Linked DNA regions of Homo sapiens: all the other regions are linked to region 1. Evidence: promoter capture Hi-C in 16 types of primary human blood cells and fetal thymus (Javierre and others, 2016). All regions are on one chromosome and are shown on one strand. Each heading gives the region's core, a stretch centred on a gene start or on the middle of the fragment in contact. The rest is flanking DNA. Distances are from core to core; before and after follow the strand shown.

What was found. The method cuts DNA at HindIII sites, captures the fragments that hold promoters and counts their contacts. A CHiCAGO score of 5 or more calls a contact.
Region 2: a contact is called between a fragment that was not itself captured here and the fragment with the promoter of RBM47-AS1 in region 1, in 1 of 17 cell types (naive B cells). The highest score is 5.5, in naive B cells.
Region 3: a fragment that was not itself captured here is called in contact with the fragment with the promoter of RBM47-AS1 in region 1 in 1 of 17 cell types (M1 macrophages); the score reaches 7.0 in M1 macrophages.

Annotation. Positions count from the first base shown.
Region 1 is chr4:40,424,857-40,427,456 of GRCh38, reverse strand. RBM47-AS1 (RBM47 antisense RNA 1) reads right to left here and starts at 1,324. Exons shown (of 2, transcript NR_199039.1): 1 at 1,275-1,324; 2 at 1-669. RBM47 (RNA binding motif protein 47) reads left to right here. Exons shown (of 7, transcript NM_001098634.2): 7 at 1,314-2,600. The coding sequence ends at 1,553. RefSeq lists an enhancer at 836-2,035. The HindIII fragment of the contact is 3,876 bases long and covers 229-2,600 here.
Region 2 is chr4:40,109,340-40,111,939 of GRCh38, reverse strand. All of the region lies in intron 5 of N4BP2 (NEDD4 binding protein 2), which reads right to left. Among named protein-coding and RNA genes, the nearest start is that of N4BP2, 54 kb to the right of the region's middle. The HindIII fragment of the contact is 1,031 bases long and covers 787-1,817 here.
Region 3 is chr4:40,152,706-40,155,305 of GRCh38, reverse strand. N4BP2 (NEDD4 binding protein 2) reads right to left here. Exons shown (of 18, transcript NM_018177.6): 17 at 2,403-2,526; 18 at 1-1,114. The coding sequence ends at 1,069. Among named protein-coding and RNA genes, the nearest start is that of RHOH, 43 kb to the left of the region's middle. The HindIII fragment of the contact is 3,367 bases long and covers 1-2,600 here.

The sequences.
Region 1 (2,600 bases), core at 75-2,574:
TTCTGAAAACATCTTATGTTGCACTTTCAAGTAGACAGAAGGAAGTAGCAGGGGCTTTTCTAGAGCCAGTGGTGGCCGTCAACAGTTCAGGCAACTTTACTTAGCTTGTCCTTGCCCACTTCTTCCTCATTTGGAAACTGCTCTTTATCCTTCAAAACTCAGCTCGAATATCCCCGCTGCTGAGACATTTTCTCCAACTTCCCCATTAGTTGGTTCTTTCTCTAAGCTTCTACAACAATTTGTATACATTAATGGTGTCATCTCTTAGGTGGGAGGTGATGGAAACCATCACATTGGCTGAAAATTGTGTATGGTCACAATTTTTTAAGGTCACAGCTTAAGAAGCTGTCCCTTTGGAGATCAGTATATTTGGTTTCTCTAAGTTGACACAGTCTGTTCCTCTCTCTGTCTCTGAGACAGATCATATTCCATCAGTTAAGTATGAGTTGAGGCAGCTGGCATGTATCTAGAGGCCATGTTTAAGGAAAAACACTGATTTTTAATTACTGTGAAATCAATTGTGTGGATGGTAGATTCTCCGCTGCCTTCTCTAGCTCACTCTGGGGCATAGACTGATTGAGTGGAATGGTAAGTAGAAGATTCCGGAATACAGTACAGAGAAGGTCCTCCTTATCCGCAGTTTCTGCATCTGGATTCAACCAACCGTGGCTTGAATAAAGACAATAAAAAATAACAATACAACAATAAAAAAATACAAATGTCAAAATACGATATAACAACTATTTACATAACATTTGCATCATATTAGGTATTATAAGTGATCTAGAGATTATTTTTAAAGTGTATGGGTCCCAAGACTTTGGGAGGCTGAGACAGGAGGATTGCTTGAGGCCAGGAGTTCAAGACCAGCCCTGGGCAACATAGTGAGACCTTGTCTCTATGAAAAAAAATTTTTTTACAGTATACAGGAGGATGTGCATAGGTTAAATGCAAATACGCCATTTTCTCTCAGGGACTCGAGCATCTGAGGATTTTGGTATCCACGGAGGTCCTAGAGCCAATCACCTGTGAGGATACTGAGGGGCAACTGTATTTCACCTTTCCCTCAGCCTTCCAGGCCTCTCACTTTCACAAGGTGGCATCACTGAGTTTGAGGATGCAGCTCCACCTTACCTCTTCAGTGGCTCTTCTCCCACTTGCTTACAATAATTGCTGTTTGCCCGCCCCTCTGCCTTTCTCTCCCTTGCTTTTGTGTCTTTGTATTCCCGTCTTCTGGGAGAGGCTTGTTGAATGAATGGATGATAGGTACATACACGTGTTCAGGAAGGCTCCTTTTTGTCTCTTCTCCTCAGGGCCGCCCAATAACTCCAGTATACACGGTGGCTCCAAACGTTCAGAGAATTCCTACTGCCGGGATCTACGGGGCCAGTTACGTGCCATTTGCTGCTCCAGCTACAGCCACGATCGCCACACTACAGAAGAACGCGGCAGCCGCGGCCGCCATGTATGGAGGATACGCAGGCTACATACCTCAGGCCTTCCCTGCTGCTGCCATTCAGGTCCCCATCCCCGACGTCTACCAGACATACTGAGGCTGGTGACCAGCACGAAGACAGACCACACAAACACCACTGAAGGAACGCTTGACTATTTATGAAGAAGGAACATGTTGGATTCACACATGCAACCTGAAAGTGAAGAATGTTAGCAGATTTATTTCTGAATTATTTTATATACATGAAGTTTTCACTAGTTTTTTAAGACTATTTTCAACTTAGCATGCCTACGTTCATACATTTCCAAAAGACTTGCAATGGTTCGTGCCTTCATTCCATCTTTTAAAAATTTGTATGCTGTACTACATTTGTATAGAGGTTTTTGTTGTTGTTTTTTTAAGGATATATTTTCAGTATGAAGGTTATTTTCTTAACTTCTGCACTCCAGAGATTTCTATTTTGTAGTACCTTCAATAATATATCAACTATATATTAAAAAAGCACACTTGAGGAGCTAGGGAACTATTTTGAAAAATATATACAATATTTAAAGATACAAACAGTAGTGCTTAAAAATACTACATAAAGCATTATTTTAAAGGTTATACTGGAAAGTGCAATTTTAAAATGAGTAAAACCTCTGTATTTCTGCTGGCATTAAGGGTTGATGGTGTTACCATGTATCATCATGGCGGTACTATTTTTTAAAAGAAATTAAACACTGGATCTCTCCTTAAGCCAACATTGAAAAGACTTGCCGCACTTCTGAGTCCAAACACTGGAAAGCTCTCCTTTGCCACCGTTAGCCGGGGCTCATTCTCCATGTGCCTTAGCCTTAAACATGCCCCCACTCCCACATCTCTCACCCTGTCCCCTCCTCCCCAGATTCCCAATCCCACCGCAATGTTTGGCAAGCCTAGGACTGATAAGTAGCTCTGATAGAGGAGCTGGTGGCTTTTATACTTCTTCCTGGGTTTTTGTTGGGGTTTGTTGTTTCGTTGTTTTTTGTTTTTTTTTTTGTTTGGTTGGGGAAGTATTGTCTTCTACGTGTGCTATTTTCAGTAGCAGAGTAAGCACAAGGTTTTAATCGAGTTGCATAAGACACCTTTGCATAGCTATTTAATTGCCCAATGTAAAACTTTA
Region 2 (2,600 bases), core at 53-2,552, 320 kb after region 1:
ATAAAAATTAAGTAAGTATGGGTTGGCTGGGCATGGTGGCTCATGCCCATAATCCCAGCACTTTGGGAAGCCAAAGCGGGCAGACCACTTGAGGCCAGGAGTTCAAGACCAGCCTGGCCAACATGGTGAAAGCCCATCTCTACTAAAAATACAAAAATTATTTGGGTGTGGTGGTGCCCACCTGTAGTCCCAGCTACTCAGGAGGCTGAGGTAAGAGAATCACTTGAAACCAGGAGGCAGATGTTGCAGTGAGCCAAGATCAGGCCACTGCACTCCAGCCTGGGCAACAGAGTAAGACTCTGCCTAAAAAATACAAAACAAGGCCGGGCGCGGTGGCTCATGCCTGTAATCCCAGCACTTTGGGAGGCCAAGTCAGGCGGATCATGAGGTCAGGAGTTCGAGACCAACCTGGCCAACATATTGAAACCCCGTCTCCACTAAAAATACAAAAATTAGCCAGGTGTGGTGGCACGCACCTGTAGTCCCAACTACTTGGGAGGCTGAGACAGCAGAATCACTTGAACCCGGTATGCGGAGGTTGCAGTGAGCTGAGACCACGCCATTGTACTCCAGCCTGGGTGACAGAGTAAGACTCCGTCTCAAAAAAACCCCACATATTAAGACTGTCAAGTAAGAGAGAAAGACCTTGAGTAGAAAAATTAAAATCAAACTATAGTCTTGAGTTTAGTTAATAATAATAAACCAATTTCTTAGTTTTGACAAATGTATCCTCGTTATATTAGATGTTAACATGAAGGATAAATGAGTGAAGGGTATACAGAAGCTTTCCATAGTATCTCTGCAACTTTTCCATATATCTAATATTCAAAAATAAAGTTTAAAAACAAACAACAAAAACAAATGGACAAATATACACACACACAATGTAATGATCTGAAATAAAGAAAACATTATAATACACCATTGCACAAGGGATTTTCTTACCTTTCTTCCAAAGGAATTAGACCATACAGGAAATTAATGATGTACCACAACAAGTAAGTCTTACAAGTAATTTATTTGGAAGTTTTCAAAGTTCTGCCCAGTCTCTAACAACTCACTAATGAAGAAACAAAGAACCAATTTAAAAATGGGCAAAGGAGGCTGGGCACGGTACCTCACACCTATGATCTCAGCACTTTGGGATACTGAGGCGGGCGGATCACCTGAGGTTAGGAGTTCGAGACCATCCTGGCCAACACAGTGAAACCCCGTCTCTACTAAAAATACAAAAATTAGCCGGGCGTAGTGGCTTGCACCTGTAATCCCAGCTACTCAGGAGGCTGAGGCACAAGAATCACTTGAACCCAGGAGGCGGAGGTTGCAATGAGCCAAGATCGTGCCACTGCACTCCAGTCTAAGTGACAGAGCAAATATGAATAGACATTTCTCCAGAGAAGATATACAAATGGCCAAAAAACACACAAAAAGATGTTCCACATCATTAGCCATCAGAGAAAAGCAAATTGAAACCACAGTGAGATACCACTTCACACCTACCAGAATAGGAATAATCAAAAAAACGGACAATAACAAGTGTTGGTGAGGATGTAGAAAAGTTGAAACCCTCATAAATTATTAGAGGAAACATAAAAAGGTATGATTGCTTTGGAAAACAGCATGGCAGTTCCTAAAAAGGTTAGACATAGACATGTGTGTTTGTTTATAGCAGCACTGTTCTTAATAGCCAAAAAGTGAAAACAACTCAAATGTCTATTAACTGATGAATAGATTAATAAAATGTGATATATCCACCCAGTGGAATCTTACTCATCCATATAAAGGAATGAAACACATGCTACAACATGGATGAAGCTTGAAAACATTATACTAAGTGAAAGAAGCCAATCACAAAAGTCCACATGTTGTAGGAAATGTCTGGAATAGGCAAATTATCTATAGGGACAAAACACAGACTGGAAAGAAATGAAGAGTGACTGCTAATAGGTACAGAATCTTTCTGAGATGATAAAAATGTTCTAAAATTTAGCGTGTTCTAAAAGTTGCAGCAAAGCCAAATTAAATAGAGTGTATTAACGAATGCACAGCCCTGAATATTAAGTTCTAAAAACTACTGAATTATACAATTTAAATGGATGATTTGTATGGCACATGAATTTTGTCTTAACAAAGCAGTTTTAAAATGAATTCCGCCTATTAACATATATTATTGTTGCTGTTATAAGGGCATGCTGAACCATGCTAACACTTTTTTTTTTTTTGAGACAGAGTCTTGCTCTGTCACCCAGGCTGGAGTGCAGTAGTGGGATCCTGACTCACTGAAACCTCCGCCTCCCAGGTTCAAGCAATTCTCCTGCCTCAGCCTCTCAAGTAGCTGGGACTATAGGTGTGCACCACCATGCCCGGTTAATTTTTGTATTTTTAGTAGAGATGGGGTAACGCCATGTTAGCCAGGGTGGTCTCAAACTCCTGACCTCAGGTGATCCATCTGCCTAAGCCTCCCAAAGTGCTGGAATTACAGGCATGAGCCACCGCGCCCAGCCAATGTTAACACTTTTCACCTTCATTTAACTTTCACAACAATCCTGGGAGTTAAGTATTATTATTCCCTTTTACAAAGGGGACACTGGGCCTTGGAA
Region 3 (2,600 bases), core at 36-2,535, 270 kb after region 1:
GTTCTCCTGCCTCAGCCTCCCAAGTAGCTGGGATTACAGGCACACGCCACCACACCCAGCTAATTTTTGTATTTTTAATAGAGACGGGGATTCACCATGTTGGCCAGGCTGGTCTTGAACTTCTGACCTCAGGCGATCCACCTACCTCGGCCTCCCAAAGTGCTGGGATTACAGGCGTGGGCCACCACACCAGGCCAATTATAAACAAAATATTTTCTATATTTGTTTAATAGAATTTTAACCTACTGCAGTTTTAAAATTACATGCCTCAAAAATAAAATATAAGTATTTAGTACTGTCTGAAATACGACTTATACAGACAGTTCTAGAAGCATTTCGATAAGGCAGCAACATCTGGAAGATATTTAACCATTTCTTTTTCTCTGAAAACCTTTCTGTCTATAGAAAGTATAAAATTACAATATAATCTCAGACCCAACTTTCTTTCCATAAAATGCACACAGAAGAACAGAACAAAAGGTAAAAGATCAAGGTCATATACAAAGCAGAAGAAAGGGCAAAAGCATGTCTTCCTTCCTGTAGGATATGGCAAAATAAAAGCATTTTATGTGTTTAGTTTTGAAAATAAAAAATATTCAAGTGTTTTTGTTAGATCTCCTTTTTTTCTTTACTACCACTACTATGTCCTTTTTCCTCTTTTAATACCACCCTTTGGGGGGCATGAATCAGGTCTCAAAGCACTTTAAATACCTCTCACAAAAGACTTTTAGGACATTACTAAATGTCATACAACAATTAATACAAAGGTAACCTTTTCTGAGAAACAATCAGAGCATTTTAAACTTTAAAACTGTAGCTGATAATTTTCTTACATATTTTGTAATCAATAAAATTTCTCTGTAATATCTTTAACAGGTAACATTTGCATTTGATTCAGTAAAAAATCAAACCTCACTTGCATTTTGAAAAACATCATAATTTTTTTGTTTCATAATTGAATATTATTTATAATAAAACACATCTTTAGGGTAGAATTGACTGAATTACTGCAAATAAAAGTAATTTTAACCTACAAACCTTCATACTTCTAATTCAAGGATGTTTATTTTACTTTAGCATGACTTTCAAGCACCCTGGTTTAATTTCAGAGAACCTGCAGAAATGAGAAAAGAGTTATTTTAAAGATGAAAATTTCAAATTAGCTAAGGAATATACCTTGTAATCAATTCCAAGTACCTACGCTTAATATAATATTTACTACCAAAGTATTGACCCTTATTAAGTCAATATCCAAGACCAACATCTAGGTTTGTGTTCCTTTTATCTACGGTCAAAACAAATACAATCTTAAAGCTGGAGGTTGCTCTTGACTTAGTATAACTTAAGATTTGTCAAAACCTGTGAGGCCTGAATTTTACCTTTATGAAAAAGAGTATGCTGTAGGAAGAATAAAGTCCTTGGTGCATCATGAAAGCACCAAGAAGAAATCTCTGATATATCAGGTAAGTCTGATTAATCTGGCCATGCAATGCTTTCAACTCTATCCGGAGAGAATTTAAAGGAAGACTAGTCTCTAAAATAGATAATTAATCTCAACATAATGTTCTGGTCTAACTACTCCTTTTATAAAAATAACCCTGATGTCACCTGTTTTATGCTCATAACTTATGCTATCATTTTCGATAATGTAGCCAAATAACATCTTATTACATGGCATAAAATAAATATGCTACACTGAAATTGGTGGGTAGGAGTTAATGATACACATCTGCAGGAAATCTATCCATCAACAGATATTTCATCTTTGACTTTCTTGTCATTTTCTGTTATTAAATAATTATCACTTAATGAAAAAGAACATTTCATGTTTGTCAACACAGGTCATTAATGGCATTTAACTTATGAAAACACAAATAAATTCATATTAACTGAACATTTCTGCTAAAGTTTAAACGTACCTAAATTATAACTATATTTCAATAGAAGCCACCCAATTCCATCCAAAATCCACAAATACTGATTTCCTTTCAAAAGAATAATAGCAAATCTTAAAGTATGATACATATTACCTAATTATTTTGCATATTATCAAAGAAACAAATATATTTACTTTCTTTTAGAACTTTAAATTTATGATAGAAAGTTTTATCAGATGATTATTGGCAACAAACACATTTTTCCTTATTTCTGGTTTACCAGACAACATAAATCCAGCAGGGAAAGTTATATCATAATTTAAGCATGAATCTGTGGCTGAAATCAGATGATTAAATTTAGTTAACTATTTTAACAGATTGTTCTGAGTACGCTATTAGTGTTTATTTACCTAGCTATATTAGGGCTATTGCTATTATCAATAACAGAAATCTATACTCACAGAAATATCTGATAAAGATCTATATGGGCAGTTGCCATTATTAATAACAGAAATCTACACTCACCTGAAGCTATGGCTTATGAGGTACTTAATGACAGCTGGTTTGATGCGAGCAACTCCTCCCTGGCTGTGGTTTCCTCTCCCCGTAATCACAGACAAATAGGGCTTCCCACCGTTCTGCTTAAATTCTGTTACAACAGAAATCAGGGGAGTTAAAATTCATTTATCTTACATTCTCAATAGAAAACGTAAACCTTAGCTA